7 separate regions of the Homo sapiens genome follow, and all the other regions are linked to region 1. The links are contacts of gene promoters, found by promoter capture Hi-C in blood cells and fetal thymus (Javierre and others, 2016). All regions are on one chromosome and are shown on one strand. The core of a region is centred on a gene start or on the middle of the fragment in contact, and the rest is flanking DNA. Distances in the headings are between cores, read along the strand shown.

Region 1 (3,420 bases), core at 510-3,009:
CTTCTTATATAAAAAAAATTAAGCATCAATGGACACTTTATTATGATTTATTACTGTACACAATTTAAAACCACAATGAAACCTAACACTGCACTGTGGCTATCTTTGTTCTTGGACGTGCATTTACATGGGCAGGCTACTGTTTTGCCATGTGGAATTTTGTGTGCGAAGTGTTTATTCTTTCTATTAAAAAAAAAACCACACCCTTGTTTCTATTGCATTATTACATTCCCTATTATCCCATCACATGTTTTTTCTTCTTGCAGCAACACAGTACACACCCTGTACTATTGCTGACATAAAAATTACTTGTCAAAAATACCTCTATCTTAGCACCACATTACTCATCTGATCTTTGCAAAGCACTGGCCTTTGTTTCACCTGGGACTAGATAACTCAACTGCTTTTACTAGTGACTCCTGAATGCTTGTAGTAGAAGGATAAATGCTAGTGTCACCTATGTTTTTAAAGTCACCTTCCAAAACAAAACTACATTGGAGGTGAATAATAAATCTTTCAAGTTTTTAACTTCATTTTTCAAGGGATTTGGAGGAAAATGGTGAAGAGAGAATCTGTCACAGATACCAAGGTGTTACTGCAATGTAAAAGAGAGTAGACCAGGAGCCTTTGGCCCTCAGCAATCTGTCTTCCTACAAGAAAAATCGAAAGCCCATTTCCATAACCATTCTTATTCCCTGCTACTAGTGTAGGATGCGCAGGACTCTGCCCTCTAGCAGAAAATGCTAATGCCGGAGTGTCCTGCTAAGTCTGAAGGTTACGTTTTTTCATTGCACTCTTATCAAGATAACCCCAGATCTGGCTAGGCTGACATCAAAACAGAACTATCCTTGGAAAGAAAAGAACAGGCCAGAGTTTTTGGAAAAGCCCCAATAACCTAAAGATAAAATCCAGAATGAGAGTCTACTGGTTCATGGCTATCTAAATGGAAACTTCACTCAAGCTGTTTTCTCTGTTCTCTTTCTGCTGCCCCCAACAGCCCTCCCTTCCACCTCCCAGTACTCACTGCTAGCATGTCTCTCTTAATATTGCAAACACTATTACAATGAAGGAACAGAAGAAAGACAGTATTTCATACGAAGGTCACTGCATTTGACCGGTGCTCAATTAGAGCACTGGGCAAAAGTACAATCAGCCTTCCAATGATACCTTTTCAACAAAGGATACCCCACCTCTAGACTGAAGCCTAAATCTATTACTACAGATAAGAAAGCAGGCATCTATGGAAACCTAACATTCAGATACAACTGCCTGTGTATGAATTATATCAAAATTCCCATGAAAGGAAACCAGGTGGGATTTCTACAATCCCAAATTCACCCTGCACCTACCTCCAATGGCTTCTTCAAAGGGAAGGTATAAAGTCATTTGCAATTTATTTCTTTGAACCAGGAGTTTTAGCAGCCCCCACACCTTCTCACAGATAGGAACGATGTTGATGCAGAAACCACCCAAACAGCCCTGTGCCAGCACTGTCGGCCCAAATGACCCAGAGACACCCAGGCGCTACCCAGATCGTGGGGGGTTACCTGTATCTGTCACCGAGTCTCTTTCACCCCTTCTGCGTGATGACATCAAGTGGAAATGGTACACGTTTAGGAGGCAAGAGGCTGACAGGCAGGAAACACAATTGAGACTGAGCTTTCTTCAGCCTGCAGTGAAATACATGCAGGAAGGGTTAGATACGCGCCGCGGAGAAGGAAATCCAAGCGCCCTCCTGGGCAGACGGGGCTGGAGCGGGTGCACTAGGGAGGTGGAGCAAGGCAGATGAGGTGTGGAGGGCTGGCGGCCGAGAAGGGGGCGTCACGGCTCCTAATTGTCTCTACAGGATAAATAACCACCTCCCCCCTCCTCCGCAGTCTCCCCCGCCCACGAGTTCCCCTCTGGTGGCAGAGCGCCTACTAGCAACAGTAAGCCCTAGGAAAGAAAGAAATCGGAGCAGGTGGGGAATAACATCTTGGGGCAAAGACACACTGGCAAAATCTACCAGGTAACCCGGTCATATGGGAATGCGGGGCGCCTAGTCAGCCGCGCAGACAGGCACACAGCGCGGCAATCCCGAGCATCTTTCTTTCGTTTGCCCCTGTCCGCCACCTCATCAAGTCACCGCCACCTCATCAAGTCACCGTCACCTCATCAAGTCACCGTCACTCTGCTTTGGCGATTTCTCTACTCTCTCCAGACCCAGGCAGCGCTCCCCAAGCCATGCCCCGACCCCAGGCGGGATTGGGGACCGCCGCTTCCCGAGCAGCGCCCCACGAGTCCAGCTGGCTTTGTCCTGCCGCTGTCCTTCCAGGAGCAAGCGCCCCAGGCGCGTGTGTCTGCACAAAAGACCCCCAACATCTGGCCCTTCACAGCGCTCTCTAATCCCGGGAGGGGCCCTGGGGCAACTTCTAGGGCTGGAGAAGGCGCGAGACAAGGGGACCGGGAGAAGATGAGCCGGGGTGTGTGCGGGCCGGGGGCGCAACTGGGGCGGGCGCGCGCGCACGTGCACACCCAGGGGCGCGCGCGGCGCGGGCACGAGGAAAGCTCCCTCGGACCGGAGCTCCAGGGGGCATCCGAGGACTCGGCCGAGCAGCCGACAGCGCCGCTCCCCGCCGCGGCCGCCCGCCCAACTCCGCCAGCTCTCAGGAGACACGCAACTCCCGGGACCACCTCCCCCGTGCCCCGCCAGACCCCGCGCTCCCCTCCCCGGGACCCTGCGGCCCCGCCACCCCCTCCGCGGTCCAGAAGATCTCCCCAGTTACAGCAGGCGGCAGCTGCCCTTTCCCGCTTCCACGGCTTCGGCGCGGCCGCCGTAGGGGCGCAGACATCCCTGCGCACCCCTCTGTCCGCCCCCGATCCGGAGCCGGCAGAGCAGAGAAACAAACCGAAACTCACTGACCTTTCTCCGCGGCGGGCTCGGGTGCTCGCTACAGAGGCGGCGGCGGCGGCGACAGCATCGCCGGGTGGTCCCGGCGCGCCCGCTCCTTTCAGCCAGACTCGCGCCCCGGGCCGGCGGCCGCCGCTCCTCCGGCCGAGAGCCACGGGGCGGACGCTGACAGCGCGGCGGCGGCGCCTGCAGCCCCAGCACCCGGCCCGGCCCTTCGGGCGGCACCCCCACCTGCCCGGCCGCCCTCCGCGTTCGCGGTCGGACACCGCCGCCAGGCGCTCGGCACCGAGCGAGAGCTTTTTGTGTCACTGAGACTCCGGCACCAAAGGGGGTGGGGGGAGAGGCTGGGCTCCGCTCCCCGCGGCACCGCCCTCCCCGGCGGCTCCACCCCCTCCTCCCCGCCCACAGCCCGGCGGGCCCGGGACTTCTCTCCGTCAGTCCCGAATCGCCCACCTCCCCCGGGGTGAGGGGCTGCCTACCCTCTCTCGCGCGCTCCCTCGGCTTTGCCCCCAGTGCCTACCCTCGGCCAG
Region 2 (3,420 bases), core at 422-2,921, 360 kb before region 1:
TTTAAAAGATAAAGTCTTGTTTCCTTAGACAATCTCTTATAGACTATGTGTCAATAAGGCAGCATGGCCTGGTGGCTGGGAGCAGAACCTGCAGCCAGACTGCCTGGGCTTGATTCCCAGCAATGTGACCTTGGGCAAGGGACCTAACCTGTCTACTCCTCAGACTTCTTACCTGTAAAATAAGGATCATAATTGTGCCTACCTCATGGTGTTATTGTAAAGATTAAATGAGTCCATATAGGTGATGTGTGCTGAGCAGTGCCTGGCTTACAGTGAATGTTCATTAAATAGGGTCACAGGCAGAGAGAAACATTAATTTTCTTCCTTAAATTTCCTAACTCTTAGGGAGTCATAACTTAAATGATTCTGATTTCTCTAGCTCTTACTCATCAGCTTTCTCTTTAATTCCTAATTCCTAAATAGCCATCCTGAATCTCTGCAGAAAAAAAATATACATTGTATTTGATACAATACATTTTACCAACGATATATATGCACAACTGTATACATGTGTGTATTGTATGTATATATATATATATATATATATACACACACACACACATATATATAAAAAACAAAAGCTTTACATCAATATTTACCCTTACTGCATGTGATAGTTTGGCATGCATATATTCTATTCTATTTCATTTTCTTTCTATGCTAATCATAACCCACCAAATTGATTTCACAATCCACTAAGCTACATCTGAAAAACAATGCACTATAGTAAAGAAAATGTTTATTCCCTCCAAAATTGCTGCTTCTCCGTCTCTACAACGTTAAGATATGGATTACAGTTGCTGGCAACTTTAAATCAAATTTTGAACCCAATATATTTCCCAGTCCCTATTTAAATAATTTTTAAGAACATAGTAGTTATAATTTTGTATATATAGCTTCAAATCAAACACAGTAGTTATAACTCCATAAAGATGGCTTCAAGTCTTACCTCTTAAATTATTACCTGTGTAATTGCATAAAAGTGACTTCAGCTAGTTGCAGTGGCTTATGCCTGTAATCCCCACTACTTGGGAGATTGAGGCAGGAAAATCACTTGAGGGTAGGAGTTTGAGGAGTTTGAGGCCAGCCTGGGCAACACAGGCTGTTTAAAAGACTTTGTCTTTTAAAATAAAAAATAAAAAAAATTTAATTATCCAGGTGGGGTGGTACCTGCCTCTAGTTCCAACTACTCAGGAGGCTGAGGCGGAAGGATCACTGGAGCCGAGGAGTTTGAGGCTGCAGTGAGTTTGGTCATGCCACTGCACCACTCCAGCCTGGATGACAGAAAGAGAACCCATTTCTAAAGAAAGAAAAAAAAGTGACTTATTTAAGCCTCAGTTTCCTTATCTGTTGATTGGGATAATAACTACCTCCCAGAGATGTTGGAAAAATTTTAAAAGAAGCTGTGTATTAAGTACATAGTAAAGTGCCTGATATTCAGCAAATGGCAGCTATTGTAATTACTGGTCTTTTAAAAACAGGATTGTTTTCTTGTTATTGAGTTATTTATATATTTTGGATATTAGCCCCTTATTTTATGAAAAGAATATTTTCTCCCAATCTGTGGGTTGTCTCTTCACTCTGTTGTTTCCTTTGTTGTGCAGAAGTTTTTAGTTTGATACAATCCCATTCATCTATTTTTGCTTTTGCATGTGCTTTTGGGGTCATATCCAAGAAATCATTGCCCAGACCAACATTGTGGAGCTTTTCCCCTAAGGTTTCTTCTAGTAGTTTGATGGTTTCAGGTCTTAACATTTAAGTCTTTAATCCATTTTAAGTTGATTCTTGTATAAGGGGTCAGATAAGGGTCCATTTCCATTCTTCTGCATGTGGGTATCTAGTTTTCTCAACACTATATTGGAGAGACTGTCCTTTCCCCATTATGTGTTCTTGGAATCTTTGTCAAAAATCAGTTAATTCACTGTAGACCCATGAGTTTTTTTCTCAGCTCTCTATCCTATTTAGTTGGTTGATGTGTCTGTTTTAATTCCAGCTGTTATAATTACTATAGCTTTGTAATATTATTTCAAAATTAGGACAAATGACCCTGTTAAAAAAAATGTGCAAAATGCCTAAACAGACATTTCTCAAAAGAAGACATACAAATGACCAACATACATGAAAAAATGCTCAACATCCCTAATCATCAGGAAAATGCTAATTAAAACCACAATGAGATATCACCTCACAACGTTAGAACGTCTGTTGTCAAAAACATGAAACGTAAGTGTTGGCTGGGGTGTGTAGAAAAAGGGAACCCTTGCACACCGTTGATGAGAATGTTAGTACAGCCATTGTAGAAAACAGTATGGAGGTTCCTCAAAAAACTAAAAAGAGAATTACCATATGATCCAACAATCCCATTTCTGGGTATATATCCAAAGGAACTGGAATTAATATGTCAAAGAATGTCTCTACTTTCATATTCACTGCAGCATTATTCACAATAGCCAAGATACAGAAACAACCTTAGTGCCCATCAACAGATGAATGGGTAAAAATAATGTGGCATACATACACAATGGAATATTCGTTTCAGCCTTAAATATTCAATACAGCTTTAGAAAAGAAAGAAATTCTGTCATTTGCAACATGGATGAATCTAGACGACATTATGCTAAATTAGCCAAGCACAGAAAGACAAATACCACATGATCTCAGTTATATGTAGAATGTAAGAAAGTCAAACTCATAGAAGTAGAGAGTACAATAGTGATTGCCAGAGGCTGGTGGGTAAAAAGGAAAAAGAATCAAAAAGTTCAAAGCTTCAGTAAGGGGTAGTAAGTTCCTGTGATCTATTGCACAGCATGGTAACTGTAGTTCATAATAATGTATTGTATATTTCAAAATAGCTAAAAGAATAGATTTTAAATGGTATCATTGCAAAAAACAAATACATATGTGAGGTAATAGACATGTTAATTAGCCTGATTTGATCATTCTATGATGTATACATATATCTAAATACCACATTGTACGCCATAAATATATATAATTATTACTTGTCAATTAAAAAAATAAAAATGGCTGGACACGGTGGCTCACACCTGTAATCCCGGCACTTTGGGAGGCTGAGGCAGGTGGATCACTTGAGGTCAGGAGTTTGAGACCCGACTGGCCAACGTGGCAAAACCTTGTCTCTACTAAAAATATAAAAATCAGCCAGGGATGGTGGCAGGCACCTGTAATCCCAGTTACTTGGGAGGCTGCGGCAGGAGAATCACTTGAACCCAGGAGGCAGAGGCTACAGTGAGCTGACATCATGCCACTGCACTCCAGCCTGGGCAAGACAGCAAGACTCCACCTCAGAAAAAAAAAAGAATTAAAAAATAAAAATGATAAAAATTACTTGGCCTTTACCAAGGACTACATAAGGTTCTCATTGATGGTTCTCAATCATGGCTACATATCAAAATCCCT
Region 3 (3,420 bases), core at 473-2,972, 340 kb before region 1:
TCTTCCTCTCAAGTCATACTGCAAGGTGGCTCCCCAACTCCCTGGTATGTAAGGCCATCCTTGCAATTCTTTTCTAATTCCACACTCAAAAACAGTGAAATAAAAACACCTAAACCAACTCTTGCAAAAAAGAAAGTATCTGTACATATATCCTTGCTCTTCTTATTGAACTAATCTATAGCATATATATCATGCTTAGAGAAAAACAGATTTAGTAGATACTAGTATTATTCAATACAAAAGAAGTCCGAGTTTTCTGAGGGAAAAAGCCCTGAGGATTGAAATTAGAATAGAGGTACAGATATTCACATACACCCTTGATCCCAAGTTCACCTCTATACCAAGAGACAGACCAAAGAAAGAAGTTCCTGTGTAAAATGTCAACACTTGATTTTCTAGGTAGGTCCGTGCAATGTGCTTCTCAAAATACATTTAAAAATACAACATGTGGTTTAATTTTGTTGTTTTAGTTCAGTCCTACGTAAAGAGAGGAAGAGTATAAATAAGTAACCTTTCTAAGTTCTTGGATCCCTGTGTCAAGAGAAAATTGTTACGGTTTCTGGTCCCTGACTGCATTGACAAGTAAAACCTCCCTGCAATTCCTTGAGTTTCCATAAGGTGGCATTGGGAGTCCTTTAGCACAGAAGTGGATGACCTGTAAGAGGCCTTTGAAGAAACTTGTTCCTGGGAGGAATTTCCAGACTGGCTGTCCTTACTTCTATCTTTGGAAAATGTCGAAGTTAAAAGTTCGCCCTGGCCCACAAAAAGCCATCATTACAGAAATACTGATTTAAAGAGACTGGCTTGGAGAGGCTCTCAAGTTAAAAATGGTGTGCAAGGGACAATTTATCTTATCCCTTCCCACCCACGATGATGTCTTGTCTTTTAAACCGTACAGAAAAAGTAAACAGTTTTCAGGAGCTAAATTGAGCAGAGCTGTCATAAAATCCTCACAGTTTTAAGTACCCTTACTTCTAAGAGTACACATCCCACATTAAAAATAATTCATCAAACTTTAAGATTTGACTTGCATTTGTCAACAAAATACTATATTTTATAGACAACTAAATAAATTAATTCTGACTTCCTGGGTTTTTTTTTTTCATGTCTCATATATGTATCTAGTGCCTAGAAAATCTCATAAGCTCTACGCACCGTGCCTATAGTACACGAAGAATAAACCATCCCTAGAACTAATTCTCTTCTGTCAGAGAAGCCTTTCAGCTGAATAAGACCATTTTCCTCAAAATCTGATTTTCAGGGCATCATGTAATATTTGTTATGTAATATTTGTTATTTACCTAATTAGATTACCTTAAAAAAAAAAAGACATGTAGCTGTCTTTATTTTTCAAAAGACGGACTAGTTCTATATAAACGGCCTAATTCTCCATGACCATCAGAATTCTCTCCAGCAAGGTATTCAAAAGACTTCCAATTTTGCTTCCTAGCGTTATCCAAAATACCGCCCCTACCACTTCAAGGTCACCTCTGTGAAGCCCTACCCAGTCTCCCAGGTAAAATTCACTGGCCCTGCCTCTGTACTCTCCCAGTGACACTTGTGGCTCTAACAGCCCTTATCACTGTCTGACTTGCATTAATTATCAGCATCCATAATCTCCTTAGATTACAAGCTCACAAGAGCAGAATCCATGTCACACTCAATATTGTTTCCCCATTGCTTAGCATAGAGGATTAAAAATACTTGGGTTTAATAACTTTACTGAATCCTGCAAACACAGCATGCTCACTTCGAATCTCACGTCTCCAACCTGCATCAATCCAAATCACACTCCAACCTTTCAGGCTCGATTCAAGCCCACGCTTCCTTAGAGTCCTATTAGTCTCTTTTTCTCTAGGAATCCCACCCTCCTTTCAGTCCACGCCTCGTATTTTTGCACACAGGGAAAATACACATGAGCGTATCATCGTTTCCTGTGTATGTTTTGTCACCAAAGCTATCTGGGAAAATATTACGTATTAATGTCATTAATTGCAATTGATAAAAAAGCACATCTACATTCAAAAAAATTTTTAAATCATTGTTGTGAGTTTTATTAGTCGGTAATCTTTTACTGCATGTATGAATGTACTCCACTTTCTCCCCTTGGATAAACTGGGGTCTTATTTTGCAGTGCTGTCAAACTGTCACTGTTCACCAGCTATAACAAAGCACACCAGAAAAAAAAAAAATCAATAGCAGTTCTACAGCTAAAACCTCAACACTCTTCCTGGAAAACGTTTTCAGAGAGATAAATAGCTCAATGGGATTATCTCTATCTCTCCTTTAAACCCCAGCGAACACATTCTAGGGGGGAAAAATGCATTTGTTGGGATAAAATTTTATCCAAACCTGCAAGGGCACATCTAACAGTGTGGTGTTTCTTTGATAACATGATGAATTATATAAAAGGCCACTGCTCATTCTCTGCCTTCCATAAATACCCTTGGGTCCAGAAAGCCACAACCACCTCTTTAATGAAAGGCTTCTCTGAGGAACCTGAGTTTATTGGACCCCAGGGATCACTTATGTTCTGTTGTTTTTTAGAGGTATAAAAAGACTACAACTTTGGTGCACACTTAGTATGTGTGTCTCTATGCATATTAAGATATGATTATATACAGAGTAGAATCCTATTAAGATGCTAATATACGGAAGCAGAATTCCACCTACATAATAAGACTTTCACATTATAAGAGGATAAATGTATATTTTTCATCATATAAACAGAGCACGTGATCTGGTCCTTAGAGTATGTTGGTCCATAGCAGGCCTTTGTGCTTTGTTAGTGGGATTTTAAATTGGGTGTTAGGTGTAGACACACAATTTCAAAACAGCAAGCTGATGGTAAGCGACTATAGGCAACTTTTTCTAATTAAACCATTTGAAGAAATACAGGGCTTCATTGTCCACAACCTGACTTACAGAAAGAGGACAAAGTGGACTTAAATTAGAACTCCCCGAGGTTTCAGATATCCAAAAGCTATCTCTGAGCCCTCCACTCGGTAGCCCTTCCCCTATCCGTGGTGAATCAAGACTACTTCTAGTCACCGCACACACAGCCACATCTCCTCGGTAAACACACTCTCCTTTTTGTTCCTGGCAGTGCTGGTGTTGCTCATTTTGTCCATGAGGCGGCACCGGAAACAACCATACATCATCGACGACGAGGAAAACATCCACGAGAACATCGTCCGCTACGACGACGAGGGCGGCGGCGAGGAGGACACCGAGGCCTTCGACATCGCGGCCATGTGGAACCCCCGGGAGGCGCAGGCGGGGGCCGCCCCCAAGACGCGGCAGGACATGCTGCCCGAGATCGAGAGCCTCTCCCGCTACGTGCCTCAGACGTGCGCAGTGAACAGCACTGTCCACAGCTACGTGCTGGCCAAGCTCTACGAGGCCGACATGGACCTGTGG
Region 4 (3,420 bases), core at 316-2,815, 310 kb before region 1:
AATACTGTTATCTCCATTTCAGAGATAAGACAACTGAGTCCCCTGGGATTAAAAATGGTACCCTATTGAACACCAAGAAGGCACTAGATGCTTGAAAACTTTTTTATGAGCAGAGGATAGACTAGATAGAACAGAAAAGGGCGAGAGAAGGGTGCCTAGCTTCATGATTGGCCAAGTCATCTCCACTATGTGAAAATGCCATACTACCTGGGAAGGTGACCCCTTAGGCCAGCAACAGTTGGGGCTGTGAAGACCAAAGAGGTCAGAGAGAGAGGTTTGGATGGAGATGAGAAACAAGGTACAGAGTCAGGGACATTGAGGGCTCTGAATATCTGGATGCGAATGCTGAGAAATGATACAAGTCAGAAACAGAGAATCAAATACCTCAGGTTCTCACTTATAAGTGGGAGCTAAATAATGTGTATGCATAGACAAAGAGTGTGGGCTGATGGAGAGTGGACACTCAGAAGGGTGGAGGGACAAGAGAGGGGAGAGTGATGAGAAATTACTTAATGGGTACTATGTACATTATTGGGGTGATGGCTACACTGAAAAACAAGATTTTGCCACTACATGTTGTACACATGTAACAAAATTGCTTCTGTACACCCTAAATTTATATAAATTCTAAAAAGAAATGGGAAAGAGAAAAGTCAAAGCTTACCTCCCTATTACTTGGAAACTGGCTCTAGTATTGATTTTATTCCTGCACTCAGGATAGATCATTTGATGAGTAGCTAGGTGAAAGAGTAGCCCAAAGGAAAACAAAGCAGGGTAGAAAATGAGCAAAGCCAAAGATTTTCTGTGTAAAATTCAGCGTTCCAAAACCTCTACAGTAACACTCCAGGTCAGATAATCTGCAACGCCCCCTGGACCTGAGCAACCACACCATGATTGACACAGCCATCAGTTCAGCTACTGGTATCTGTCTATAAGGAACAGAAGCAGCATGCGGATGATGGTTTAAGCAAAGATTTGTTTTTGTCACAAATAAGAAATGCCATGCTGTTTAAGGGACTCAATGGCGTTGGGCCAATGTTGCTGAATTCTCTTGGCTTCCCCATTGGTTTGTAAGATGGCATCAGCAGCTTCAAGGTTCAGATCTCAAACTGTGTTCAAGGGCAGGAAGCTGAGCATAGGGCTAGAAGATTTTCTGTGACTTCCTCTTATTAGGGAGGAAAAATTTTTCCTAGAAGGTCCAAGCAGACTTCTTATATTCTCCCTAATCTATGTCACATTCCCATCCTTAGACCAGGGACTATATCTACATTCCCTAAGAATAACTGAACCCCATCTGATGCCTGTCCAAAGTGGGTTACCCTTGCTCCATCCAAAAGGCATGGAAGATCAGGGGCTGGCACTTTTGGGGACTGTACCTTCTACTGTTAATGGGATCCAGGTAGACTGAGTGCCACTGGATCAGAGCAGAACCATCAAGGCCAGCATAAGCAGGAGGCTGCTGGGGCTGCCAGTTGAGAGAAAACAATCTGTCCCAGGCAGGCATCCTCTCCAAATTTAGAAGCAAGAGCTAGCCTTTCCAGAGGGCTCTTTGAAAATGTTAGAAAATTATAATTAGACTTTGTGCTTCTACCAAGCCTTTTGTCCCAGAAGCTCAGGGCACTTCTCTGCATCATCTCATTAATCTTCACCACGCCATTCGAGGCAGCCTGCAACTATTGTCATCTTTATTTTCAGGATGAAAGATCTGAGATGTGGAAACAGGTCAATGGCTTGCCTAGTGTCATATACTCAGTGAGGCACCAGCAGCTGAGGACAGGACCAAAACTTATCACTGAAGACCCGGGACAAGTACATGGATGGCATTTACTTACCCAGAAAGCATGAGACTTGCAAGGTGACTTGACAGAAGAATGTCAAAGCTCTGTGCAAAGAGGTGAGAGGAACAGAACACAAGCTGTGATTTACTATCCAAGGAACCTTGGGCAAGTCACTTACACTTTCTGAACAGTTCCTCATCTAAAAAATGAAAGTAACATCTACCACATCGAACTTCACTTGGCTGTTTCAAAGACAAAAGAAGTGTTTTAAACAAAACCATGTGACCTAGGACATTTTATAAAATCTAAGTCAACATAAGGCATTGTTATTTGAGAGGATTTGTAGAATCAACATTTAAAATGAGCCTGCAGCTGTTGGCACACAATGATAATCCTGAATTGCAACCAGACAATTATAGAAAATGCTTCCTAAGAGATGACTAAGAAGTTCCTTTTTGCCATTCAATGTGCTATGATCATTTTCACCACTTACTCTATGGAAAGTGCTACAAAGCATGCAAGGACAACTGGACTGTGACCCACATCCTCTAGGAAATACGGTCTGGTAGAGGAGACAGATAAACCACTCATTTCACTGTGAGGAAAAATGAAAGAAAACATGTAATAGCCAAGGAGACCAAATGTGGGGGGTCCAGAGGAGGCTTGGGTCGGTTCCCATTCAGCAGCTCAGAGGAAGCTTTTGGGAAGTTGCAGGGTGATAGGAAAAGAGACCCCAGATGGCAGGAATATTGCAGTGGGGAGAAATGGAAGCCAAGAACATACAATATTATATGACTAAAGAAAAAGGTACATGGAAGATTGTAGACATTCCAATAAAAAGTTTGTGCAACATGGTATTTAGTGGGATGTTTTTTCCTGTTGTCTTGGAAACGTGGTAGCTCCTCAGTGAAGCTGAAACTGAACACAGCTCCTAAACAACCACAAACACCAGCTATGACAGCAACACCACTACAGTGGAGCCCATCACCGCAGAAGGACCAGAAGTGGCCAGGGTAAGGCTGGGGCAGACATACTTCACTAATCTGCAGCAGAGGGTCCCTCAAGATTCCTCTTTCTGCTCCCTTCTCCTTTCCCCTTCCCCTGCACCCCACCTTCCTTTGCTCAAACAAGAAGCCACATCTACAACAGTGACTTTCTTTCTTTTTTTTTCTTTTAAAGACAAGGTCTCGCTCTGTCACCCAGGCTGGAGTGCAATGATACAATCACAGCTCACTGCAGCCTCCATCTCCAGAGCTCAAGAGATCCTCCTGCCTCAGCCTCCTGAGTAGCAGGGACCACAAGTGCATGTCCACCACCCCTGGCTAAAACAATGACTTTCAAACTTCTCTAAGCATGACCCACAGTAAATGTTTTACATTATGACACGATTCACACAATTCCAGGCAGCTGACATCTATTATCACATTTATTTTCACACACACACACACACACATACACACACACCTGAAACAGCTTTTTGAGGAAATCATACTCTATTACTTGGAATGTACTTTGTAATTTGTATTCCATTCTACTCCTTTAAAGAAAAATAAAGATTGTGACTTTCTAAATTGATATTATGAGCCAGCAATGGCTTGTGACTTGCATTTTGGAGAAACCAGCCTAGGACAATATGGGAAGG
Region 5 (3,420 bases), core at 342-2,841, 300 kb before region 1:
AGCTTTGTTCAAACATCACTACCTCAAGGACATCTTCCCCATGCCCTGCAGACCACATCAGCCCCTACTCCTACTCTCATACCGCTGTGTCATACGACTGTCATACTGCTGCCCTGGGTTGGTTTCCCAGGAACAAACTTTAAAAGGAAGGAAGTTCTGAAACATGCTACAACATCGATGAACCCTGAAAATACTATGCTATGTGAAATAAGTCAGTTACAAAAGAGCCAATACTGTATGATTCCACTCATATGAGGTATCTGTAGTAGGAAAACTCATAGAAACAGAAAATAGATTAGAAATTACCAGGAGTGGGCTGGGTGTGGCGTCTCATGCCTGCAATCCCAGCACCTTGGGAGGCTGAGGTGGGTGGATCACTTGAGGTCAGGAGTTCAAGACCAGCCTGGTCAACATGGCAAAACCCTGTCTCTACAAAAAATACAAAAATTAGCCAGGTGTGGTGGTGGGCGCCTGTAGTCCCAGCTACTCAGGAGGCCGAGGCAGGAGAATCGCTTGAACTCAGAAAGCGGAGGTTGCAGTCAGCCGAGATCATGCCACTGCACTCCAGCCTGGGTGACAGAGCAAGACTCTGTATCAAAAAAAAAAAAAAAAAAATTACCTGGGGTGGCCAAGCCCAGTGGCTGACTCCTATAATCCCAGCACTTTGAGAGGCCGAGGCCAGTGGATTGCTTGAGCCCAGGAGTTTGACACCAGCCTGGGCAACATGGCAAGACTCTGTCTCTACAAAAGAAATGCAAACAATTAGCTGAGCATGGTGGTGAGCGCCTGTAGTCCCAGCTACCCAGGAGGCTGAAGTGGGAAGATCACCTGAGCCCAGGAAGTCAAGGCTGCAATGAGCTGTGTGCCACTGCACTCCAGCATGGGCAGCAGAGTGGAACCCTGTCTCAAAAAAAGAAGAAGAAGAATAGGAAGAGGAGAAAGAAGGAGGAGGAGGAGGAAGAGGAGGAGAAGGAGGAGAAGGAGAAGAAGGAGAAGTTGTTATCAGGGGCTGAGGAAGGAGAAAATGAGGGGTTGTTGCTTAAAGAATATAAGTTGGGGGTGATAAAAACATTTTGGAACTAGATGGTGGTGATAGTGGCACAACTCTGTGAATATAATTAATGCCACTAAATTGCATGCTTCAAAATGGCTAAAATGACAAAAATAAATATTTACCACAAAAAAAAAAAGAATGTGAAAGAGTAGAGGGAAAGCGAGGCCATTTCTAGATGATCCCTGTTTTTCGACACTAAAAACCTAATTAGAGATCCACTGGTTCCTGCCTACATAGCCTGCAGCATCTTTTTCTTACATTAAAAGGTAAGACTCAGGTCCTACGTTCTCATTCTGAGCAAGAATATCAGAAGGGAAGCCACTCTCAGAAATCCATCAGCAGGGAGGGCGTGCCAGCAGCTCCACTGAGCTGCCACCTTCTCTTTAGTGTATTTGCTACTTGTAGGAAAAGAAAAGCCCTGTGCGTTTCAACTATGACTTTAAGTGTTCTTTTTACTAGGCAGTAGTCCATTAAATTAGATTCAATTAAAGTTGATTTGATTGATGAACTAAGGTCTCATAGTCTCTCCAAAGATAACATAGGTTTGTGTCATCGATCCAAAAACCTCTCACATTTTGGCAACCGTGCAGCAAAATGATTTATTTCCTCAGTAAAACCAGGCAATACTATTGATCTACAGAAACATCACTTTAGTCATTCCTACGTAGTAGAGGTTCTTAACTGTTATTAAATCAGCTGTTCACTGGCTGACACATCACAAATTGAAACTACGCACACAAATCACACGATTGAACTTGAAAAGCCAAATCTGTTTTTATTACACCGTGGAAAGTAGAAATGGGATTTCACTCTGCCGAGGTTATCACATGGAAATAGAAATGCAAAACACTCCTCCTTTTAAAAATAATAAATAGCATAAATCATGTGGACAGCTGACTGCTACATGGTAACATTCCTGTGAGTTTTGCACTAATAAGAAGCTGAATTAGATTAATACCTGTGCATTCTCCTAAACAGTTCAAGGAAATTAATTTAGCTCTCCACCTGTCTGAACAAAATGCTTTTGAAATATTAACTATCCGATTCTTATCACTAAAAAACATTTCCTTTACACCTATATGCACATATGACTTTGCTAAGCACTTCCTAAGCAATTCAGACTGATGGATTATATAATCTAAAAATGCAGTTTTCCTATTAAAAAGACAACCTGGAACTTGTTTATTTAAGTGCGAAACAGCACTGACTTTTTTTTAAGTTGGATTATTTCTGGTTATAAAAATGTGGGGAGGTCTTATTTCATACAAAAGATGTGTCTTGCCAGACCTTGTGTAATTCGAACTTGCATAATTCAAGAATGATTTTCTCAAGGGAATAAATATAAAATAAGACAGATGTATTCTCAGAGCACATTTACAAGTTATAACATATTTTTTGCTTTTAAAGCTGTTTTTCCTGTTCCCAGCATTACATCTAATATTTCATGGAGTGCTGTCTCCCATATTAACTGCACCATGTTTCACAGTAGTCGTTTTCCCTCCTTCTTGGCATCTTATCACATATAACTTCCCTTCAAATGCTATTGATTTGGGGGAACATTTTTCAATGTAAATGCTTGCATCCCTATTTTGTGAACATTTGAATGACATTGTTCCGAGTTGTAAAAATATGTTACATAATAATAACCGTGAATGCTAAAACAAAAACATAATAGTAACTAAAATCACTTGCAGGAGTCCCAAAATGCAAACAATAGCATGGTTTATTGAATCTTGCAAAACTGGATTGGTTTATGTGTTTACCAGCTAAAATGATCATGTTGTAAAAGTGTAAACAAAGATTACAATATTCACTCTGCCTATCAGCTTTAAAATTACATGACTCTTGATAATTTGTTTTAACTTGGTGGATTAACATCTCTTTTTTTTTTTTGAGATGAAGTCTGGTTCTATTGCCCAGACTGGAGTACAGCGGTGTGATCTCCGCTCACTGCAATCTCCACCTCTTGGGTTTAAGTGATTCTCATGCCTCAGCCTCCCAAGTAGCCAGGACTACAGGCACGTGCTAACACGCCCAGCTAATTTTTTGTATTTTTAGTAGAGACAGTGTTTCACCATGTTGGCCAGGTTGGTCTCGAACTCCTGACCTCAAGTCATCAGCTCACCTCGTCCTCCCAAAGTGCTGGGACTACAGGTGTGAGCCACCACACCCAGCCCAGATTAACATCATTTTAATCTTTATGCAAAGTAAGCTTTTACTGGTACTTTTACATGGATGTTTTTGAGTTTACATATTCCAAACTTGCAGAAACAGATTATTTTCACTTCTAACCTAGTGTGTCCTCCTCTTGATGGATTAAAGCCAACCATCAACTGACCTCCAGATGGATCCACTTTCACTTTTAC
Region 6 (3,420 bases), core at 589-3,088, 280 kb before region 1:
ATTAATGACAAACTTCTGGGCTGTCCAAGTTCTTGGGGCACTTCATGGCTCATACAGCTGGCGAAGCTCTGCACCATCTTTCTCATGTTTGACCTAACATCCTGTGTCTCCATTGTATTTCATACCATGTGTCTCCCCAGCCCAAATTCAAAAGAATATTTAAGACCTTCCAACAGGATCTGAAAGGATGACCCTTTGAAATGGGTCATTACTAGTGCAAAGAACAGTTTCTGCCAATAAGAATTTCCCATTTACCCCTAAAGGGCAAAGATTATATTTCACTGATATTTGTGGGTTATGTTCCCCACACCTCAACCCCAGTACGCAGCACTATGCCTAGTTCAAATTAACACAGCAGGAGTTTGTGAAGGAGGAAAAACTTTTTCTCTGTTCCTTAGGAGGCCTGCAAATTAAACTGAAAAAAAAAAGAAGAAGAAGAAGAAGAGGAAGTTTATTTGCTCATATAATGGGCATATATGCAGGAGTGCTCAGTAAATCAAAGAAGTGGTTAGAATGTGGGGCTTATGTACTTAAGTTATGAGAGAAAAGGAAGATGGAAGAAAAGACATCTATGGGAAAAACAAATAAGTTTCTTTAGGAATGATAGATGGATTTTTAGGAGAACAAATTAAAGATAAGAAAGTTTGTGATAAGTGGTCTATCTTCTTCATGGTCATGAAACTCCCTGGAAGAGCGAATCTGTGGTAGGTTAACTCTTGGTCTGTCTCCCAAAGACCTGCCCTAAAGAGAGAATTTATGGCAATCTCACATACCAGAGGTTCCTGCTTTTAGTCAGATAAGGAATGCTTCAAGAAGGCTCCTTTCTGTACCTGTTGAATCTCAGATGTCTTCAACTTAATCTTTATACCAACTCTTCATTCCAAGTGGGTCCCCATATGTTCAATTAATGAAGATGGAACTGGATGAAACACTATGTGGAGCATGGTTCCTAGGTGAGATAAGCTAAGCAAAATGATTCCCATGCTGATCACTGAAGGACTTCATTCTTTCTACGAGGCACTAAATTAGAATTCTATTAGGTGGAGGCTACAGTAACTGCCCAGTGGGTTCACCTTGCCTGCTGCCTAGACAGAGCCAATTTATCAAGACAGGAGAGCTGCAATAGAGAAAGAGTTATCCACACAGAGTCGGCTGTGCAGGAGACTGAAATATTATTACTCAAATCAGTCTTGCCGAGCATTCAGGGATTGGAGTTTTTAAGGATAATTTGGTGGGTTGGGGGCCAGTGGTCAGGAGTGCTGATTGGTTGTGTTGGAAATGAAATCATACGGAGTCAAAGCTGTGCTCTTCTGTTGAGTCAGTTCCTGGGTTGAGGGGGCACAAGATCAGATGAGCCATTTTGTCAATCTGGGTGGTGCCAGCTGGTCCATCAATTTCAGTGTTGGCAAAATATCTCAAGCACTGATCTAAGATTTTCCAATAGTGATGTTATTCCTAGAAGCAATTTGGGGAGGGTCAGAATCTTGTAGCCTCCAATTGCATGACTCCTAAACCAAAATTTCCAGTCTTTTGGCTAATTTGTTAGTCCTATAAAGGCAGTCTAGTCCAAAGGTAAGAAGGGGGTCTGTTTGGGTAAAGGGCTGTTTTCTTCTTTGTTTCCAATGATAAACTAGTGCCTCTCAATGTAAGTTTGGCCTATACCCTGGAATGAACAAGGACAGCTTGGAGGTTGGAAGCAAGATTGCATTGGTTAAGTTAGATCTCTTTCACTGTCTCGGTTATAAATTTGCAATGCTGGTTTCACTACTGAATGCATCTCTTTGGGATCTCAGCTAGAAGAACCAACTGTTCTGCTTCAACTCCAGGCCTGATTACTTGGACCAAGGTAGTGTTGAAGCTCAGAAAACAATACCACAAAGTATGGTCTTTGGCATGCTAAGCACTTTGAATTAAAGGAAATTAGAAGGCTTTAGAAGCTGCCTCAGAAGCAAGGTCTCTCTGACCTTCCCTTTTTCTTCCTCCAAACACAAGGAGGAGCTCTCTCTAGGGAAGTTAGCTGACTGAGGACAGTACTACCAAAAGAAACACAATTACCTTCAAACATTTGTCTGAAATCTCATTGTCAGGGGATTAGTCACTGAAGAAGAAAATGAAGGCTGTTCCCATGCCCATCTGTACAGACCTTTTATCTATTCTTCTGAGGCCTGTTACCTGAGAGACTTTATCAGCATAACAACTGTTGTTCACAGTACAGTTCTGTCCCTCAGCTTCCTATAACTTGTCACCATCTTCCCCAGAGCCCAGAGAAACTTTGTCCCAGCCTATTGTCTATTCTTTAAGCCCATATATCTCCCCTAAAAACCATTTACTCTTCCTCTAAAATTGTCTACATCCCCCACTTTGCTCTCCCTTACAAACAGGGCATTTCAGTTTCAGCCATCTGGCCCTTCTTCAGGTGTTCAAACTTTGTAAGCCTTTTATGCACTTGCACATTAATACTGTTGTATGCCTTTTCTCCTGTCAATCTGTCTCTTGTGAGTTTATTTCAGCAAACTCAATTACTGAGCCTTCGGAAGGAAAGTTTAGCTTTCCCTACAGTGATGATAAACCCACCTCCCACCCATGTTTCTTCTGCCGAGGCACAGGTTTTCTCTTTGTTTTGTGTTGTTTTGTTTTGAAAATTAACTTGACTGGGAAAATCAAACTATATGGACAGAACTTAGGATGACAGGATGGGTTTTGAGAGCACTAATTTTGTGGCATATTGTTTTATCCAAGTTTACTTTGCAGCTTGGTTGGCATGTATTCAACCATCCTCAGCATTACGTGGAGAGAACCACCTTCTCAAAGACCCTCATTTTAGTCTTGGACCTTTTCCTCTTCTGCTTTCTCTACTGGACACTCTCTCTACCCTACCTCTGCAAATTGGCTGAACAAAGTAGTAAAAAAGCATAAGATTTGGATACAGTTTCTGGCTAAGCACCCTAAAACTCTGTAGGCACATCTCAGCTGGTTGCCCAGTCTGAACCTTGCACCATACTCTTGTTGGAGACCAGAATATGCCACTCCAAAATATGCCTCTTTGGCATAAGGATCATTTTAAGCTAATTATTTTAAGAAACTGCAGACACAGGAGAAGCTCTGACACGTTAAAGTTACCCATTGTAAGGAAATTTACATCTATGAAGGAAATCTCCATTTGTGTTGACTGTTTTGTTGTTGCTGTTGTCGTTTTTAGAAACAAGTTATTACCATGTTGCCCAGGCTGGTCACCACCTGCTGGGATCAAGTCATCCTCTCATCTCCCAAGTAACTAGGACTACAAGCACATACCACCATGCTAGGATGGAAATCTCCATATTTAAGGTTGTCTCCCACTGTATATTAGGAAGAGAAGAATGACTCTAAATCGCTAGAAACTATGAACACAGAAGGCAAATCTGCATAACAAACTTATTG
Region 7 (3,420 bases), core at 598-3,097, 260 kb after region 1:
TGTCATTATAAAATGTTCAAAAAACTAGTACTTAAAGGAACCATAGATTTTTATTATGATCAATTTGCTAATTTGTTTTTGCCTATATAATCTGCTTATCTAATTTTTCTTTAAAGTATTTTTTAAAAAATCATCCACTTTGTTATTATAAATGTATTACATTTGAACAGCATTTTCCCAAAGGCTTTCCTACATCTCATATGGTCCATTACTACAAGAGTCTGATTCCATGGTCAATGAAAGATCAAAATTTACCCAGGATGAATCACAAACTAGAAACGAAAAACAGGTTTCCTAAATCCTAATCTAGGGCTCATTTTACTAATAGAAACAAAGGAGTTTAAAACTTCTCTTATTTATTTAGAATGTGTAATTTTTTAGAATTAAATCTTAGAATTCAGAACAGTGTGCTACAACATAGAACTTTCAAAGCTCATGAAAACAGAAAAAACGTGGGATACAGTCTCCAATACTTCAGGTAAAAATATGCTTTTTGTATATTAACCACTCAATAGCACAAACCTTAACATTATCAAAAACCCACGTATCCAGTTTTGTTGCATCTTGAGCACCAAAATCCTCTCTTTTAGCATCATAACTATATGTATAAACGTGGTCTCCACTAGCACCTGAAAAGAAAATTTGGAAAAAATAATCTTTTTACAAAATCTTTTAAACTATCATAAAATATGAGCTAGTCATTCACAGATTTTTGTGAGTAACCAGAATTTTCACAAAGCATTGTTCATTATGATGGGGAAGAGAAAAATGGGAGGAATAATTAACATTTATTTATGTTATGTGCTATGGACCATGCTACATACTTTAATGTATTCTATTGCTTTTTGTCCTCAAAAATAACATATTTTAATTTCGCAGATTCATTATATGTTAATTAACACACCAAAATCACAACTCTAATAAGCAATATAACAAAAATAAGCACAATATTTGTCTCCCTTTAAGGATTAAACTATTCAAAACATGTGTGCCCCTTAGAATGCTACAATCTAAAATAGATGATGTGTGTTGTACAAACCTTCTTAACATAAGAAGAAAATTCAGATATTTCACTTCTCTTATTCATAAACTATGAGTATTTTTCTCAACTTCTAAGAGAATAAATATTGCTTATTGCCAAAGAGTTTGAAGGGGTCAACAGATATGACAATCTCATATATTTGCAAGAGTGTATTAAGAATCTAAACAGTTTAGTGAATTTCTGAGTTTGATAGGCTCTTGCAGGTAATAAGAAAGAGATATGGCCAGTGTGGTGGCTCACACCTGTAATCCCTGTATTTTGGGAGGCCGAGGCAGGTGGATCACCGGAGGTCGGGAGATCGAGACCCCCCTGGCCAACATGATGAAACCCCGTCTCTACTAAAAAGAGAAAAAAATTAGCTGGGTGTGGTGGTGTGCGCTTGTAATCCCAGCTACTCAGGGGGCTGAGGCAGAAGAATCGCTTGAACCAAGGAGGCAGAGGTGGCAGTGAGCTGAGATCGTGCCACTGCACTCCAGCCTGGGCAACAAGGGCAAAACTCCGTCTCAAAAAAACAAAAACAAAAAGAGAGATATATAATAAAGTAATACAATCTTTATAGCACCAGTTCAGCTCTAATGACCCTATTCCACAGCTCAGCCATTCCTCTTCCCACATCCCAAATAAAAAGGTCTGACTGGGTTTGCTGTTTACTACAAGATATGGAACATTAGACTATCTCTAATTCAATTATTTGTCCTCTCCCATCCATTGTAGCCAGAAATAGGAATGTTAGTTTGATAAGCCATAGCAACTGAATCCACCCTTACCACCACCAGCTCCCAAAAAAACGAAACTGCTTTCCAAAGAAGGCAATATATAAATGGCAAACAGTTTGGGGCTTTTTGGTCCGCCCAGTATAATAATGTTCTATGACTATCATCTGTAAAATTCTCAATATATATTTTGCTTCCTGGACACATAATAATCTTCAATAGTTCCCATTATTTTAATTACACTCATGACTAAGTATGTTACAAATCCTTTCTGATAAGTGAAATGATCAATCTTTCTGCTCCCACTTAAAAGCATTTAATGACATGAAATTCATCCAACTGATTTTAGAAAATAATATAAATGAATTTTCTAATTAAGAGATGTCCCAATATTTGCAGAATCATGCATATAAACAATAAATCTAAATGCTACATTCAGTATATTAAATATCAATTTAAATAAATTATATGTTAAATGCCATATATATCAAATGCCAGAATATATGGCATCTTCGATGTATTAAAACAGGAATTATAACTATATATTTTAACACTTAAATATTTTTTTTGAGATAGGGTGTTGCTCTGTTGCCCAGGCTGGAGTGCAGTGGCATAATCATGGCTCACTGCAGCCTCAACATCCCAGGCTCTCAAGCACTCTTCCCACCTCAGCCACCTGAGTAGTTGGGACTACAGGCACATGCCACCACACTCAGCTAATTTTTTGTTTGTTGTAGAGATGTGGGTCTCACCTTGTTGCCCAGACTGGTCTCCAACTCCTGAGCTCAAGTGATCCACCTGCCTCAGCCTCCCAAAATGCTGAGATTACAGGTGTGAGCCACTGTGCCCAGCCAATGTTTAAATCTTTATATGAGTAGCTACTAACTTTTAAAATAATTTACCAAAGTATAATGAACCACACCTCAACATCATCATTTATAATCAAGTTATGTGAAAAGTGCTATGCTAAATATTTCACATGAATTACATAATTTAATTATAAAAATAAATCTATGAGACAGAAACTAATATTATCACATTTTATGAAAAGGAAATTGAAGCTCAGAGAGGTTATATAAATTGCTCAAGATTATATAGCTGTTAAGCGATAGTGCTATATACCACTTAATTGAATCCAAAATACTATCTAACTGTATGATGTGCCAATATCTCAAGTATAACTAAGAAGGAAAAAAAAATACTGTAATTAAACATCCCTATTTCAGAAATGTTAAAAATGTAAAAATATGTGTAAAAATCAACACATACATTACATACATAAAAATAGAAAACTACCATATTGACTTACTCCCTATTTACTATCTGAGGAAACATAATCAGTGACTCTTACCTTTGGCAAACATAGGCAGGATATCTGGGCTTCCCCAGCTCCATGTGTATTTACTTTCATTAAAAAGAGAATCAAACTCTACAGGATTTTCCTTCCATCCTTCAGAAAGCAAGCAAGCAGTAATAGTTATATACACATGGTACAATAAGCCCCTAAAGAACTATTCTTCAAATAATAACAATTACATTAGTCAGTGAATAAATGCAAAACTAATAGATTTTATATTATGCATATTATACCACTATTTAAAAAAAAACTAACAATAGATAATTTACTTCTTAATGAAATATAAAATTATTTTTGAACTTTCAAGA

The links. Contacts are between HindIII fragments. The CHiCAGO score rates a contact against its expected background, and 5 or more counts as called.
Region 2: a contact is called between a fragment that was not itself captured here and the fragment with the promoter of RNF152 in region 1, in 2 of 17 cell types (megakaryocytes and M0 macrophages). The highest score is 6.1, in megakaryocytes.
Region 3: a fragment that was not itself captured here is called in contact with the fragment with the promoter of RNF152 in region 1 in 5 of 17 cell types (megakaryocytes, M2 macrophages, endothelial precursors and 2 more); the score reaches 10.7 in megakaryocytes.
Region 4: a fragment that was not itself captured here is called in contact with the fragment with the promoter of RNF152 in region 1 in 12 of 17 cell types (endothelial precursors, megakaryocytes, M2 macrophages and 9 more); the score reaches 22.0 in endothelial precursors.
Region 5: a fragment that was not itself captured here is called in contact with the fragment with the promoter of RNF152 in region 1 in 2 of 17 cell types (M2 macrophages and M0 macrophages); the score reaches 10.6 in M2 macrophages.
Region 6: a contact is called between a fragment that was not itself captured here and the fragment with the promoter of RNF152 in region 1, in 6 of 17 cell types (M2 macrophages, M0 macrophages, M1 macrophages and 3 more). The highest score is 14.3, in M2 macrophages.
Region 7: a contact is called between a fragment that was not itself captured here and the fragment with the promoter of RNF152 in region 1, in 1 of 17 cell types (M2 macrophages). The highest score is 6.2, in M2 macrophages.

The regions. Positions count from the first base shown.
Region 1 is chr18:61,891,248-61,894,667 of GRCh38, forward strand. It overlaps RNF152 (ring finger protein 152), which reads right to left and starts at 1,760. Exons shown (of 2, transcript NM_173557.3): 1 at 1,548-1,760. LOC105372159 (a long non-coding RNA gene) reads left to right here and starts at 3,306. Exons shown (of 3, transcript XR_935562.3): 1 at 3,306-3,420. RefSeq lists silencers at 2,946-3,095, 3,166-3,315. The HindIII fragment of the contact is 8,244 bases long and covers 1-3,420 here.
Region 2 is chr18:61,532,009-61,535,428 of GRCh38, forward strand. All of the region lies in intron 7 of CDH20 (cadherin 20), which reads left to right. Among named protein-coding and RNA genes, the nearest start is that of CDH20, 200 kb to the left of the region's middle. The HindIII fragment of the contact is 2,184 bases long and covers 580-2,763 here.
Region 3 is chr18:61,551,084-61,554,503 of GRCh38, forward strand. CDH20 (cadherin 20) reads left to right here. Exons shown (of 12, transcript NM_031891.4): 12 at 3,107-3,420. Among named protein-coding and RNA genes, the nearest start is that of LINC01544, 200 kb to the right of the region's middle. RefSeq lists an enhancer at 3,003-3,420. The HindIII fragment of the contact is 6,299 bases long and covers 1-3,420 here.
Region 4 is chr18:61,577,575-61,580,994 of GRCh38, forward strand. It overlaps LOC124904314 (a long non-coding RNA gene), which reads right to left. Exons shown (of 7, transcript XR_007066395.1): 6 at 1,833-1,882. Among named protein-coding and RNA genes, the nearest start is that of LINC01544, 170 kb to the right of the region's middle. The HindIII fragment of the contact is 1,816 bases long and covers 658-2,473 here.
Region 5 is chr18:61,594,120-61,597,539 of GRCh38, forward strand. The region is part of intron 3 of LOC124904314 (a long non-coding RNA gene); the gene reads right to left. Among named protein-coding and RNA genes, the nearest start is that of LINC01544, 150 kb to the right of the region's middle. The HindIII fragment of the contact is 3,345 bases long and covers 1-3,264 here.
Region 6 is chr18:61,610,700-61,614,119 of GRCh38, forward strand. No RefSeq gene overlaps it. Among named protein-coding and RNA genes, the nearest start is that of LINC01544, 140 kb to the right of the region's middle. The HindIII fragment of the contact is 7,553 bases long and covers 1-3,420 here.
Region 7 is chr18:62,154,023-62,157,442 of GRCh38, forward strand. It overlaps PIGN (phosphatidylinositol glycan anchor biosynthesis class N), which reads right to left. Exons shown (of 31, transcript NM_176787.5): 6 at 3,107-3,205; 7 at 523-629. Among named protein-coding and RNA genes, the nearest start is that of PIGN, 31 kb to the right of the region's middle. The HindIII fragment of the contact is 3,994 bases long and covers 1-3,420 here.